Regions from separate parts of the Homo sapiens genome. Here all the other regions are linked to region 1. Evidence: promoter capture Hi-C in 16 types of primary human blood cells and fetal thymus (Javierre and others, 2016). All regions are on one chromosome and are shown on one strand. Each heading gives the region's core, a stretch centred on a gene start or on the middle of the fragment in contact. The rest is flanking DNA. Distances are from core to core; before and after follow the strand shown. Region 1 holds the start of TEX19 (testis expressed 19). Region 2 overlaps CCDC57 (coiled-coil domain containing 57). Region 3 overlaps FOXK2 (forkhead box K2). Region 4 overlaps FOXK2 (forkhead box K2).

The links. Contacts are between HindIII fragments. The CHiCAGO score rates a contact against its expected background, and 5 or more counts as called.
Region 2: a fragment that was not itself captured here is called in contact with the fragment with the promoter of TEX19 in region 1 in 1 of 17 cell types (activated CD4 T cells); the score reaches 7.9 in activated CD4 T cells.
Region 3: a contact is called between a fragment that was not itself captured here and the fragment with the promoter of TEX19 in region 1, in 6 of 17 cell types (naive CD8 T cells, activated CD4 T cells, total B cells and 3 more). The highest score is 7.8, in naive CD8 T cells.
Region 4: a contact is called between a fragment that was not itself captured here and the fragment with the promoter of TEX19 in region 1, in 6 of 17 cell types (activated CD4 T cells, naive CD8 T cells, naive B cells and 3 more). The highest score is 8.5, in activated CD4 T cells.

Annotation. Positions count from the first base shown.
Region 1 is chr17:82,357,576-82,360,524 of GRCh38, forward strand. It overlaps TEX19 (testis expressed 19), which reads left to right and starts at 1,672. Exons shown (of 2, transcript NM_207459.4): 1 at 1,672-1,710. RefSeq lists a silencer at 2,858-2,949. The HindIII fragment of the contact is 12,499 bases long and covers 1-2,949 here.
Region 2 is chr17:82,203,805-82,206,929 of GRCh38, forward strand. The region is part of intron 1 of CCDC57 (coiled-coil domain containing 57); the gene reads right to left. Among named protein-coding and RNA genes, the nearest start is that of CCDC57, 7.5 kb to the right of the region's middle. RefSeq lists enhancers at 1,385-2,186, 1,963-2,142, 2,069-2,363, 2,187-2,988, 2,473-2,532 and 1 more. The HindIII fragment of the contact is 677 bases long and covers 1,173-1,849 here.
Region 3 is chr17:82,528,121-82,531,443 of GRCh38, forward strand. All of the region lies in intron 1 of FOXK2 (forkhead box K2), which reads left to right. Among named protein-coding and RNA genes, the nearest start is that of FOXK2, 10 kb to the left of the region's middle. The HindIII fragment of the contact is 2,689 bases long and covers 244-2,932 here.
Region 4 is chr17:82,569,144-82,572,288 of GRCh38, forward strand. It overlaps FOXK2 (forkhead box K2), which reads left to right. Exons shown (of 9, transcript NM_004514.4): 4 at 2,581-2,727. Among named protein-coding and RNA genes, the nearest start is that of FOXK2-AS1, 18 kb to the right of the region's middle. RefSeq lists an enhancer at 1,836-2,335. The HindIII fragment of the contact is 5,606 bases long and covers 1-3,145 here.

The DNA.
Region 1 (2,949 bases), core at 422-2,921:
AGGACTGGGACGAGGAAGCCCCAGGGTGAGGGGTGGCCCTGATCTGAGCCCTAACCTGGTGGGGGTGGCAGGCAGCCCCAGGTGTGTGGATGACCTGAGCCAGGCACAGACAGCTGCCAGGTGGGGAGGAGCAGAGGTCATGGGGATGTAGGGAAAGGGTTTGGGGGTTCCTCCCACAGGGCCACTGTGTGAGACAATTTGTCACTTTCTTACAAAACTAAACACACTCTGACCACAGCATCCAGCAATCTCACTCCTTAGAGTTTACCAAAATGAGTTGAGAACTTATGTCTACAGACACCTGCACATGAATATTTGTAGTAGCTTTATTCATAATTGCCCAAACCTGGGAGCAACCAAGATGTCTTTCCATAGGTGAATGGATAAATAAACCATGGTACATCCAGACAATGGAATACCATTCAGTGTTAAAAAATAAGTGAGCTGGCCATGCAAGGTGGCTCACGTCTGTAATCCCAGCACTGTGGGAGGCAGAGGCAGGCGGATCACTTGAGCCCAAGTGTTTGATACCAGTGTGGGCAACATGGTGAGGCCCTGTCTCACAAAAAATACAAAACTTATCGGGGTGTGCACCAGCACCTGTAGTCCCAGCTATTTGGGAGGCTGAGGTGAGAAAATCACAGGAGCCCAGGAGGTTGAGGCTGTAGTAGCTGTGATTTCACCAGTGCATTCCAGCCTGGGTGACAGAGCAAGACTCTGTCTCAAAAAAAAAAAAAAAAAAAAAAAGAAGTGAACTATCAAACCACAAAAGACATGGAAGAACCAAAGTGCGTATTACTAAAAAAGAAGTTGAAAAGGCTACATAATGTATGAGTCCAGCTCTGTGACATTTTGGAAAAGGCAAAATTAAGGAGACAGTCAAAAGATTCCTGGTTGCCAGGGGCTGGGAGAGGGAGTGATGAAAATGCAGAACACAGATGAATCGGGGCGGAGAAACCCGTCTGTACAATATTAGAGTGGTGGGTCTGCATGATTATACATGTGTCCAAACCTGCAGAATGCACAGCACCGGAGGAAAGCATAATGGAAACTGCAGAGGGCGATGATGATAATAACAACGTGTAACAAATGGCTGGGACGGGAGGACTGGGGAAGGCTGTGCACCTGCAGGAGCAGGGGAGCGGTGGGAGAGCTCCATGCTTTTGGCTCAATTTTGCTATGAACCTAAAACTGCTGTAAAAAATAGAGTCTACTGAAAAAACAAGTGTTAATTTATAAGCGTCTTGTTTAAAGAGCGAAGAGATGAACCACAAAGGGGAAAATGTGTTTAAACAATAACTAATTGACAATTGGCTGGTTCTTAAAATTCAGAGAACTTTAAGACAGAGACAGCAAAGCAGGGATCACGTTTTACAAACGCGGCAGGACCAGGACGTCGTGCCCACGACGGGCCAGCAACCACAGGCTGGATGCTCACCCTGTGCCAGCCTGCAGACGGAGAGCACCCACCCCAATCTCCAGCCCCCAGAGGAGCTGCCTCTCCAGGGCCTTCCTGCAGGTGCCCAGGGGCTGCACATGGCCCTCCTTGGAGGGAGCTGGTGACTCAGCACTTTCATTTCCTGGAAACTGAGGCTCATGGGAGATATGCAGATGAGCCCAGAGCACCATGGGAAATGGCCCTTTATATACCCAAATGGGCTCTGCCTCCTCCTTTCCCTGGGTGCCCACATGAACAGAGACACCAGGATGGTGAGATCTCCCGAGGAGGGGTCTCTGAGGAGGGGTCTCGGAGACACGGCCTGGTGCTGGGTGAGGGGTTGGGAGGCTGAAGCGGGGCCAGGATTCCTCAGGTTCCCTCAGTTTCCCTCAAATTTCCCTCAGTTTCCCTCAGGTTCCCTAAGGTTCTCCAAGTTCCCTCAAATTTCCCTCAGTTTCCCTCAGGTTCCCTCAGTTTCCCTCAAGTTTCCCTCAGTTTCCCTCAGGTTCCCTCAGTTTCCCTCAGGTTCCCTCAGTTTCCCTCAAGTTTCCCTCAGTTTCCCTCAGGTTCCCTCAGTTTCCCTCAAGTTTCCCTCAGGTTCCCCCAGTTTCCCTCAAGTTTCCCTCAGCTTCCCTCAGGTTCCCCCAGTTTCCCTCAGGTTCCCTCAGTTTCCCTCAAGTTTCCCTCAGTTTCCCCCAGTTTCCCTCAAATTTCCCTCAGTTTCCCTCAGGTTCCCTCAGTTTCCCCCAGCTTCCCTCAGGTTCCCTCAGTTTCCCTCAAGTTCCCCTCAGTTTCCCCCAGTTTCCCTCAGGTTCCCCCAGTTTCCCTCAAGTTCCCCTCAGGTTCCCCCAGTTTCCCTCAAGTTTCCCTCGGGTTCCCCCAGTTTCCCTCAGGTTCCCCCAGTTTCCCTCAGTTTCCCTCAAGTTTCCCTCAGGTTCCCCCAGTTTCCCTCAGGTTCCCTCAGTTTCCCTCAAGTTTCCCTCAGGTTCCCCCAGTTTCCCTCAGGTTCCCTCAGGTTCCCCCAGTTTCCCCCAGGTTCCCCCAGTTTCCCCCAGTTTCCCTCAAGTTTCCCTCAGGTTCCCCCAGTTTCCCTCAGGTTCCCTCAGTTTCCCTCAAGTTTCCCTCAGGTTCCCCCAGTTTCCCTCAGGTTCCCTCAGTTTCCCTCAGGTTCCCCCAGTTTCCCCCAGGTTCCCCCAGTTTCCCCCAGTTTCCCTCAAGTTTCCCTCAGGTTCCCCCAGTTTCCCTCAGGTTCCCTCAGGTTCCCCCAGTTTCCCCCAGTTTCCCTCAGGTTCCCCCAGTTTCCCTCAGGTTCCCTCAGTTTCCCTCAGGTTCCCCCAGTTTCCCTCAGTTTCCCCCAGTTTCCCTCAAGTTTCCCTCAGGTTCCCCCAGTTTCCCTCAGGTTCCCTCAGTTTCCCTCAGGTTCCCCCAGTTTCCCTCAGGTTCCCTCAAGTTTCCCTCAGGTTCCCCCAGTTTCCCTCAGGTTCCCTCAGGTTCCCTCAGTTTCCCTCAGG
Region 2 (3,125 bases), core at 261-2,760, 150 kb before region 1:
GGCCTGGTGGGACATGGCCGGGGTGCTGCTGCCAGAGCAGGAAAAAGCCCCAGCCTGTCTTAGGGTACCTCTGTATCTCCGGGCACCTCTGCATCTCGGGGCACAGCAATGGTTGTACAAAGTCCCAACTCCCAGAGGGAGCGGGTACAAGGGCACAGCCAGGCTGAGCACCGGCTGTGACGAAGCACAAGGAGGAGGTGGGTAAGGGGCTGCAAGACCCGTGGGCCCCTCCAGAAAGGGCTGGTCAGCAGGGCACACCCGCTGGGGGCACGAGGGCTCCCTGGGGGTCCTGAGACGGCGCTTCTCTGACGAGGCTCTGGAGCAAAGACGGTCTCCTCCATCCCACATGCTTCCTGCGATGCAACCCCCGCGCCCAGCACCCTAGGACCATCACGCCACCTGGACCACCTCAGCCTGGCTCCTCCAAGCTGCTGCGTGCCCACCCATTGCCGGAGCTAACAGGGTCCCTACCGACCATCTCAGCACTCTCCCACGCTCCTGTTCCTCGTCTCCCTCAGCTCCTACAACGGCCCCACCGTCCACCCCGTGTAATGATCCTTGACCTCTTGCTGTCTCCCACCTTGTGCCCACACCTCGGCCACCACAGTGTCTTACCACAAGAGACCTCAACTGGCCTCTGCTGTGCACTCCCACTTTTTTGGCTGCCAAAGGAATCTTTTCAAAAATGCTTTACCAGGGCCGGGCGCAGTGGCTCATGCCTGTAATCCCAGGACTTTGGGAGGCCGAGGCGGGCGGATCATAAGGTCAGGAGATTGAGACCATCCTGGCTAACACGGTGAAACCCCGTCTCTACTAAAAATACAAAAAATTAGCTGGGCGTGGTGGTGGGCGCCTGTAGTCCCAGCTACTTGGGAGGCTGAGGCAGGAGAATGGCGTGAACCCCGGAGGCGAAGCTTGCAGTGAGCTGAGATCGCACCACTGCAGTCCGGCCTGGGCAACAAAGAGAGACTCCATCTCAAGAAAAAAAAAAGGCTTAACCAGGCTTCCCATTCCACTGAGGACATCTGGACCCCAGGCTCCTGCCTGTCGCTGCCACGTGCCCTCAGAGCCTGGGATGTGTGGCAGGTGCCGCTCTGTCTGCAAGGTTCCTCCTAACCGCAGGGCAGGCTCCTCCTGCCAGTGGGACCTCAACCTGAACATCACTGCAGGGAAGCTTTCCTAACTTCCATCTCACGTTGGCACAACGCCATCACCCCAGTGTCGGGTGTAGTGAGTCCCACTGTCTGGCACAGTCTTGGCGACTGAAACATTTTGTACACAGAGGACATGCACACACCTGTGCACACACCTGTGCACACACAGGGAAAGAATTGGACTATCAGCAAATACACATTAAATGATGGAACACCACTGTGATCTCTGATGACTCAGAACCCTTCACACAGTGCCCGTGAGTCATGACAACGGTTCTCTGCAGAGCCTGAGGTCTGCGAGGTCTACGGGCCTCTTCTCTGAGGGACTGCTGTGGCCCCCGTCCTGTACCAGCTGCCCTGCCACTGGGCTTGCCTCCTTAACTCATTGGTCGCAGCCACCCATGGGGGTTGCCGTTCTGAGAATCTGATCATGCAATCTTATCTGGCCTCAAATGTGCCCGCGACTCCTGACCATTTTCAAAATAAAGTCCGATCTCCTTGGCACAGCGTATGAAGACAGACCGAGGACACGGCCCAGCCTGCGTGGCTCCAGCTGCTCCCTGCAGGCCCAGAGCAGCCTTTATCTGCCAGTTCCTGTGCACGTGCTACTCCAGGTCCCCATGCCCCCATCTCCCCACTGGGTGAGGTTCCTTCCCACCAGGTCTCAGGACTCAGCGGGTCACCCTGTTTTCAAAAGCTTCAGGCAGCCAGGACAGGCAGATGGCACGTACCACCCCCTCTATGTGAGATGGGTGCTCCCAGGCCTCTGTGCTCTGCACAGAAGAGCAGCCTGAAAAATCCATACAGCAAGTGACTCGGTGCAGCACCCGGTGAGAGCCCAGCATCTCCAGCGCTTTATCCATCACACTCAGGACCCATAAGAAGCCCCACACACCAAGGGCCTGTAAGTCAGCCGGGCTCGGCTCGCCTTTCCTTCTGACCTCATCATAGAACGGCCTGCTCTGTTTCTGTACAAATCCCATCTCGGGATGATCCCCAAAGCCCCAAGGCTGAGATTAATTGGCTTTCAAAAGCACGGACTCAGCATCTGGACGCAATCTGCCTGTCGGCCAGCAGGCGTCCCCAGCAAGCACCTGGTTTCAAGAAGGACCATGAAGCTTCCGGGTTGGGGAGCGGCAGGAGAAGCCGCCGGGGAGGGAAGGCCTCGCTGTGCGTTCACCCTCTTTCAGGAGAACCAGTGGGGCTCCCTGAACCAGCCAGCTCCCAGCAGGGGCTGGAACAGCATGGGTGGGCATCCCATCACTTTGATTTTCTCATTTTAAAAATACTGAGCTGAGCTAACGGTGATGTTGTAGGTTTACCTGTTGTGGTACAATGACACATCATGGTTTTCTTGCACAGTTCCTGGCTCATAACTCTCACACGTCACAGTCTTTTGTTGCAATGTTGGGCGTGTCAGGCCTCAGGAAACAGAATCCTTCCAGGTCTCCACTCTCACCTGACTTTCCATTGTAGGTCATAAGATCCTCCCCAGAGCTCCCACCCTCTACCCTGGGGGAAGGAATGCTGACTTCAGGAAGCCTCCCTAAACACCCAAGAGGACAGGGTGTGGAGAGGTTCCTGGGGAGTGGTGGGTGGGGTGTGGGGGGGTCCTCCAGGAAGCCTCTTCCCCCATATCTCCCCTTACGCATCTCCTCATCTGTATCCTCTGTAATACCCTTTATAATAAACTGTTACACGTATGTGTTTCCCTGGGTTCTGTGAGTCACCCCAGCAAATCAATCGAACCCAAAGAGGGGGCTGTGGGAACCCCAACTTGAAGCCAGTGGTCAGTCAGAAGTTCCGGAGGCCAGGACTCGCGACTGGTGTCAGAAGCGGGCAGTCTTTGAACCACCATTGCAAAATTATAACTCAGACAGTGAAAGAGATCTGACCTAACCAATTCCATCGTGCTTCTAACCTCCAAGCTCTCCTTGTTCATTCCTGGGTGTAGGCCGAACTAAGTTTAGG
Region 3 (3,323 bases), core at 338-2,837, 170 kb after region 1:
CATTTATTAATAGTGAAGTGATTGTAGTCAGGCGTGGCTCCCCCATTTACTGGCAGGTCCCATTTAGACCTGCGGTTGCAGAAGTACAGCACAGCTCTGTGCATGATTGGTGGAAATATTCCAGGAGATGAGGCTGTTACAGTAACAGCAGATTTTTCCATTGTGAAAATGTAACTATTCCTGCTTTGTTGAAGAGAAAGATTTTTTTGGAAAATGAAGAAAAGAGGATTTCTAAATTAAGGAAGCTTTTAGTGAAAGCAGTTGGCATTTGGGTAGTAGTATTCTTATCTGTTTAACATTTTTGTGGGGCTCTTGTTTTCTTTTATGTTTGGTTTTTGGAGCAATTTATAATATCTTAAATAATGACAGTCATAGTAAATCAACCTCCACACTTTTTCATGAGGAATTTTTGAATTTGCTGCTAAAATGCAGTACAGGAGGGCATGTTTAAGGCACACATTACCATCTCTACAATGTGAAGCGGGCTTTGAGCACGGAACAAGGTGTTACAGCTGTACCTAGGAAGTGGTGGCAGGGAGACCAGAAAGTACCTCGTGCCAGAGCCACAGCCCCTGCGGCCCTGCTTTCCTCGTGCACGTCAGTTTAGAGTGCACATTGGGCTTCAAACGCCTCTGCTGATTTGTTAGGAACAGAGAAGGTGCTCTGCTGAGAATTCCGTAGATTTCTAGACAGTATTTGGTTTTTGCTGCAGTTTGTCATTTGAGATGGAATGCTTGTGTTCTTTGTCCTGTGAAGGGCATTGGAGTACGACACCGGGGTGAGTCTGCCTCCTTCCCCTCCCTGGGACGTATGACAGTGTCTGGAGGCACATTTGGTTGGCATAGACTGGGAGGACGGGTGCTACTGGCATCTAGTGGACAGAGGCCAGGGATGCCACTGAAAAATCTTACAACGCACAGGACGCAGGAGGGGAGAGCCGCCTGTTGCGTAGCAACCTGGCAGCTGATAATATAATAAAAGTTGGTTATGACTCTTGGTCCTACTGGTGGTAAGTTTTAATAATTTTTTTTACAGATGATTCCTGCTTAAAACCTTTATGCTACCAAAGCATCTGTTCAAATTATACTTGAAAGCGCCTTTTTTTTTTTTTTTTTTTTTTGAGACAGGGTCTTGCTCTGTTTCCCAGGCTGAAGTGCAGTGGTGTGATCTTGGCTCATTGCAGTGTCCACCTCCCGGGTTCAAGCGATTCTCCTGCCTCAGCCTCCTGAGTAGCTGGAATTACAGGCACGTGCCACCACGCCGGCTAATTTTTTTTTTTTTTTTTTCAAGATGGAGTTCTGCTCTGTCGTCCAGGCTGGAATGCAGTGGCACGATCTTGGCTCACTGCAACCTCCGCCTCCCAGGTTCAAGTGATTCTCCTGCCTTAGCCTCCTGAGTACCTGGGATTACAGGCGCGTGCCCACTCCCAGCTAATTTTTGTATTTTTAATAGACAGGGTTTCACCATGTTGGCCAGGCTGATCTCGGACTCCTGACCTCAGGTGATCCGCTTGCCTCGGCCTCCCAAAGTGCTGGGATTACAGGCGTGAGCCATGGCGCCCCACCTGAAAGTGCCTTTTGTAAAACAGAGCCTGGAGGTTGAGACTCATTGCGGAGTCACTAGATAACTCCTCCCTTTGCAGCTTTGAAAGGACACTCTCGGAATGCAGTTCTGTCTTGCTATCCCTGGTTGTAAGAAGATACAACTAGGTCCCTTAAGGCAGTAGTAGCCTAACATTGTTACGTTTGTAATGTGTTCTCTTAGTCGTATTTATTGACTTAATTAGGCTGATACAGATATTCTGAGAACTAGGAATACCTTAGTTACATTGATACAGATATTCTGAGAACGTTTATCTTTAGTGGGAAAAAAGACAATGAGCTGTAGCTGAATTGTTCCAGTTTTTTGTGTTCCTGGTTCCACTGGAGAATGAACTGATGATGTGACGTCATTGTTAGCACAGCCACGCTGGGAAAGATGGCTCTCAAGGTGCTGTTTTTAATGGTGTTTAGTCATTAATAATTGGCAGTAAGAAAACTCATCTTTTGACTTTCATTTGGACAGATGGAATATAGAAAACCTGAAATAGGCCGGGCACGTTGGGTCACGCCTGTCATCCCAGCACTTTGGGTGGCTGAGGCAGGCGGATCTCCTGAGATCGGGAGTTCGAGACCAGCCTGACCAACATGGAGAAACCCTGTGTCTACTAAAAATACAAAATTAGCTGGGTGTGGTGGCGCATGCCTCTAATACCAGCTACTCGGGAGGCTAAGGCAGGAGAATCACTTGAACTCCAGCCTGGGCAACAAGAGTGAAACTCCATCTAAAAAAAAAAAAAAAAAAAAAGAGAGAGAAAACCCGAAATAAGGAAATTTAAAACTACTGATGTGTTTTTTTTTTTTTTTTTTGAGACAGAGTCTCGCTCTGTCACCCAGGCTGGAGTGCAGTGGCGCCATCTCAGCTCACTGCAACGTCCTCCTCCCGGGTTCAAACAATTCTCCTGCCTCAGTCTCCCGAGTAGCTGGGATTACAGGCGCCACCACCACGCTCTGCTAATTTTTGTATTTTTAGTAGAGACGGGGTTTCACCATGTGGGCCAGGCTGGTCTCAAACTCCTGACTGCAGGTGATTCCCCTGTCTTGGCCTCCCAAAGTGTTGGGATCACAGGCCAAAGTGTGAGTCACTGTGCCCGGTCTACTGTTGTGTTTTCAAAGTGGCTTTTTTGGTCTTGTATTTTTCAGAATACGATAGCATTTTGAGTATATAGAGAATGTTTTAAAAATTCTGTGTTTTTGCCATTTCTGAGCTGTTGGAGGATGTTAGGATAATGAACATCATTTTGATAGCCATTTGAGCTGGGTGGAAGAAGATGTGGTTTAAATATAAAATGTCTGTTCTGGGTCCTCCTTGAGGACCTGTTCCCACTTTGCCAAGCTTCCCCCTGGACTTGTCCACACGTGATTAAACACAGCTGAAATCCTGTACACTTGAGTGAACTGCATGTAAGTGTTCTGTGGGCTGGGCTGATTCATCTTTACATTGTACACTTCCTGGGGTTGTAGCCTTTGACCCCTGGGTGACCTCCTCCAGGAATTCTGGGTACTCGATAGGACTCAAATGTTTATTGCTGAATTGGTTGGATGTGGGCTTCTGAGTTTGGATTGGGTGACTACTGTACCATAGGAAACCATGTAAAACAGTTATAAATGTAAGTCAGATTAAATTCACTTCTGATTCTACAGTTGCTCCCACTTTTTTTTGTTTTTGTTGATGGTAGACTCCCCAAAGTGACTTTTTTGGCCTTGTACAGTCATGCATCACTT
Region 4 (3,145 bases), core at 587-3,086, 210 kb after region 1:
GCTGAGTGGAAGAAAGAGAGTAAGAACCATGCATGGTATTACTTGACATATTGAGGAAGTGTGATCTATCCCAGCAGAACGCAGCACAGCCATGAGAATGAATAAGCCACAGCTGTGCATCCCCCACCTGCGGCCGACTACGGCGTCTAACACAGGGTGCTAGGCAAGGAGGGCGCGTCGCGTGTGGTGCTGTTTCTGTCAGGCTTACAATTGGACAGATCTAAGTTGTATTGTTTAAGGATGCAGCCAAGTGGTAAAACGTAGTAAATCCCAGCAAAACTGTGGTCACTCTAAGAAGTCAGTAGTAATGGTGGCCTCTTGGAGAAGTAGAGGTAGTGGGCTGAGAGGGCCCATACGAGCATGTTGGGGATGCTGGTGGTGCCCTGTCTCTTGACCTAGTATACTGATGTTCACTTTGCAAAAATTTGTTCAGCTGACATAAATGTATCATGAGCTTTTCTGTCTGTTTTATATGTTTTTCAATTTAAAAAGTTTTTAGAAACATAGAAAAAAATCACAGGGAAGTCAACAGCACAGGCACAGTGACGAAGGCTTTGTTAGCTGTTTAAAGGAAGAGACGTAGCGGGCAGTGTGGCATGCACCTGTAGTCACAGCTGCTCGGGAGGCTGAGGCAGAATCACTTGAGTTCAAAGCTGTGGTGAGCTACGATCAATCCTTGAATAGCCACTGTACTCTAGCCTGGGCAACATAGCAAGACCCTGTCTAAAAAGAAAGAATTAGGTATGTGGAGGGTCTTCTTGTGATTACATTTTTCTGTTTAAAAAAAAAAGCGATAGGCTGGGCGCAGTGGCTCACGCCTGTAATCCCCAGCACTTTGGGAGGCCAAGGTGGGCGGATCACGAGGTCAGGAGATCGAGACCATCCTGGCTAACACGGTGAAATCCCGTCTGTACTAAAAATACAAAAAATTAGCTGGGCGTGTTGGCAGGCGCCTGTAGTCCCAGCTACTCGGGAGGCTGAGGCAGGAGAATGGCGTGAACCCGGGAGGTGGAGCTTGCAGTGAGCCGAAATCGCGCCACTGCACTCCAGCCTGAGTGACAGAGCGAGACTCTGTCTCAAAAAAAAAAGAGAGACAAATTTGACTTCGGGAGGCCAAGGTGGGCATATCACTTGAGCTCAGGAGTTTGAGATCAGATTGGACAAAAAAGCAAGATCCTGTCTCTACAAAAATACCAAAAATTAGCCAGGCATAGTGGCATGAGCTTGGAGTCCCAGCTGCTGGGGCGGCTGAGGTGGGAGGATCACCTGAGCCCTGGGAGTTCAGGCTTCAGTGAGCCGTGATCACACCACTGCACTCTGGCCTGGGCGACAGAGTGAGACCGTGTCCCCAGAAAAGAAAAGACAAACGTCCCTCTGCCCACTCTGAGCTGTCAGCGCTGAACGCGGCCTGTGCTATGGAAGCCCATGTGGGCGCCTCTGATATCCTTGCCTCCTGTCTGTCAGCCTGCCTGTTTCCCATTCCATTTGTGTTTATCCTTGAACAGTATCTATAATTGTTCATTGTAAAACTCCATGTATATAGTATCATCTTGAATGTATTTTTTCATCCGACATTATCTGTTGCTCTTCATCCATGTTGACAAGCGTGTTGCCCAGAAGTTCACAACCAGGAGTGATTCCCTTTCCCAGTGGGCTCGTGCCTGTAAGTGTGGGTTTCAAGTTGTCACTATGACAGGGAGCCACCAGTGGCCTTGAAAGAGCCAGGACCAGGGATGCCAGCCTGTCAGCGGGGCACTCAGCAGCCAGGATGTCTCCAACCCCAAGGTGAAGCCTCCATGGGGCTCTTCGTGGGCCAGGGGGCTCCTCCTCATGGGCGGCAGGGTCTCCTTGTGGATGGGTATTTGGTGAGTCCCAGGGGCTCTGGGCAGCCCTGGCCACCCCTGGTGCTTATGCCTGGGGAGGGGTGCTGCTGGCTGTGAGCCCTCAGCCAGCCTTACCCACCCCTCGCCTGTACCCCTGGGGTAGCTGACAGGATCTGGTCGTGGTTGAGGTGCTTTGCCTTGGACTCCACTGAGGTCAAGCAGCCTTTATGTCTTCATTTTTGACATTTGGATTTTTTCCTTATGTAATTTTTAATATTCTTTATAGTTTTCCATTTGTTTCCTCCATGTTTTCGAATTGTATTACTTTCATAGTAAGAAAAATGAGGTATCAGGCTGGGCGCAGTGGCTCACACCCGTAATCCCAGCACGTTGGGAGGCCGAGGCAGGCGGATCACCTGAGGTCAGGAGTTTGAGACCGGCCTGGCCAACATGGTGAAACCCCGTCTCTACTAAAACCACAAAAATTAGCCGGGCGCGGTGGCAGGCGCCTGTGATCCCAGCTACTCGGGAGGCTGAGGCAGGAGAACCGCTTGAACTCAGAGGGCGGAGACTGCAGTGAGCCAAGATCGCGTCACTGTACTCCAGCCTGGGCGACACAGCGAGACTCTGTCTCAAAAAAAAGACAAATGAGGTATCAGAGGAACACTTAAAAGCACTGAGAATCTTTAAATCTAGTAAATTTAATACAAAATATGGTAACTTCAATATTCGTTTTGTGTTTGTTTTTTAAATACAGGATGATTCAAAGCCGCCTTACTCCTACGCGCAGCTGATAGTTCAGGCGATTACGATGGCTCCCGACAAACAGCTCACCCTGAACGGGATTTATACACACATCACTAAAAATTATCCCTACTACAGGACTGCGGACAAGGGCTGGCAGGTAAATGCCTTCAGTTTGTTGTTAAATAGAGGCTGATGGATACCGAGAAGAAAGTGGAGCGGCTGCTGTCTGGAACACAGGCACAGGATAGGAAGGTAGAAGGGGGGGTTGGAGCCTCCCGTGCTGAGAGGAAGAGGAGTTGGGGGCCGGTGCTGCCATGCTCTGCCTCACCTTCTTTGTGTGGAGCAGAAGGAAGCGTGGTTCTGGAGGAGCGTCTAGGCCTGCATGCTTTACTGTTGTGGAAATTCATGTGTCTGCATAGGATTTGTGAAGTGTGGATTGTTTGAGATATTTCCCTTTGACCAATGCAGTTCATATTTGAAATGTAGGAGAAATTTAAAACCCAGCCTATCCTTCCCTTTGGCATTCTCCTGTCTTCCTCATCTAATCCTGCTAATGGACAGAAGTTTTGAAGTTT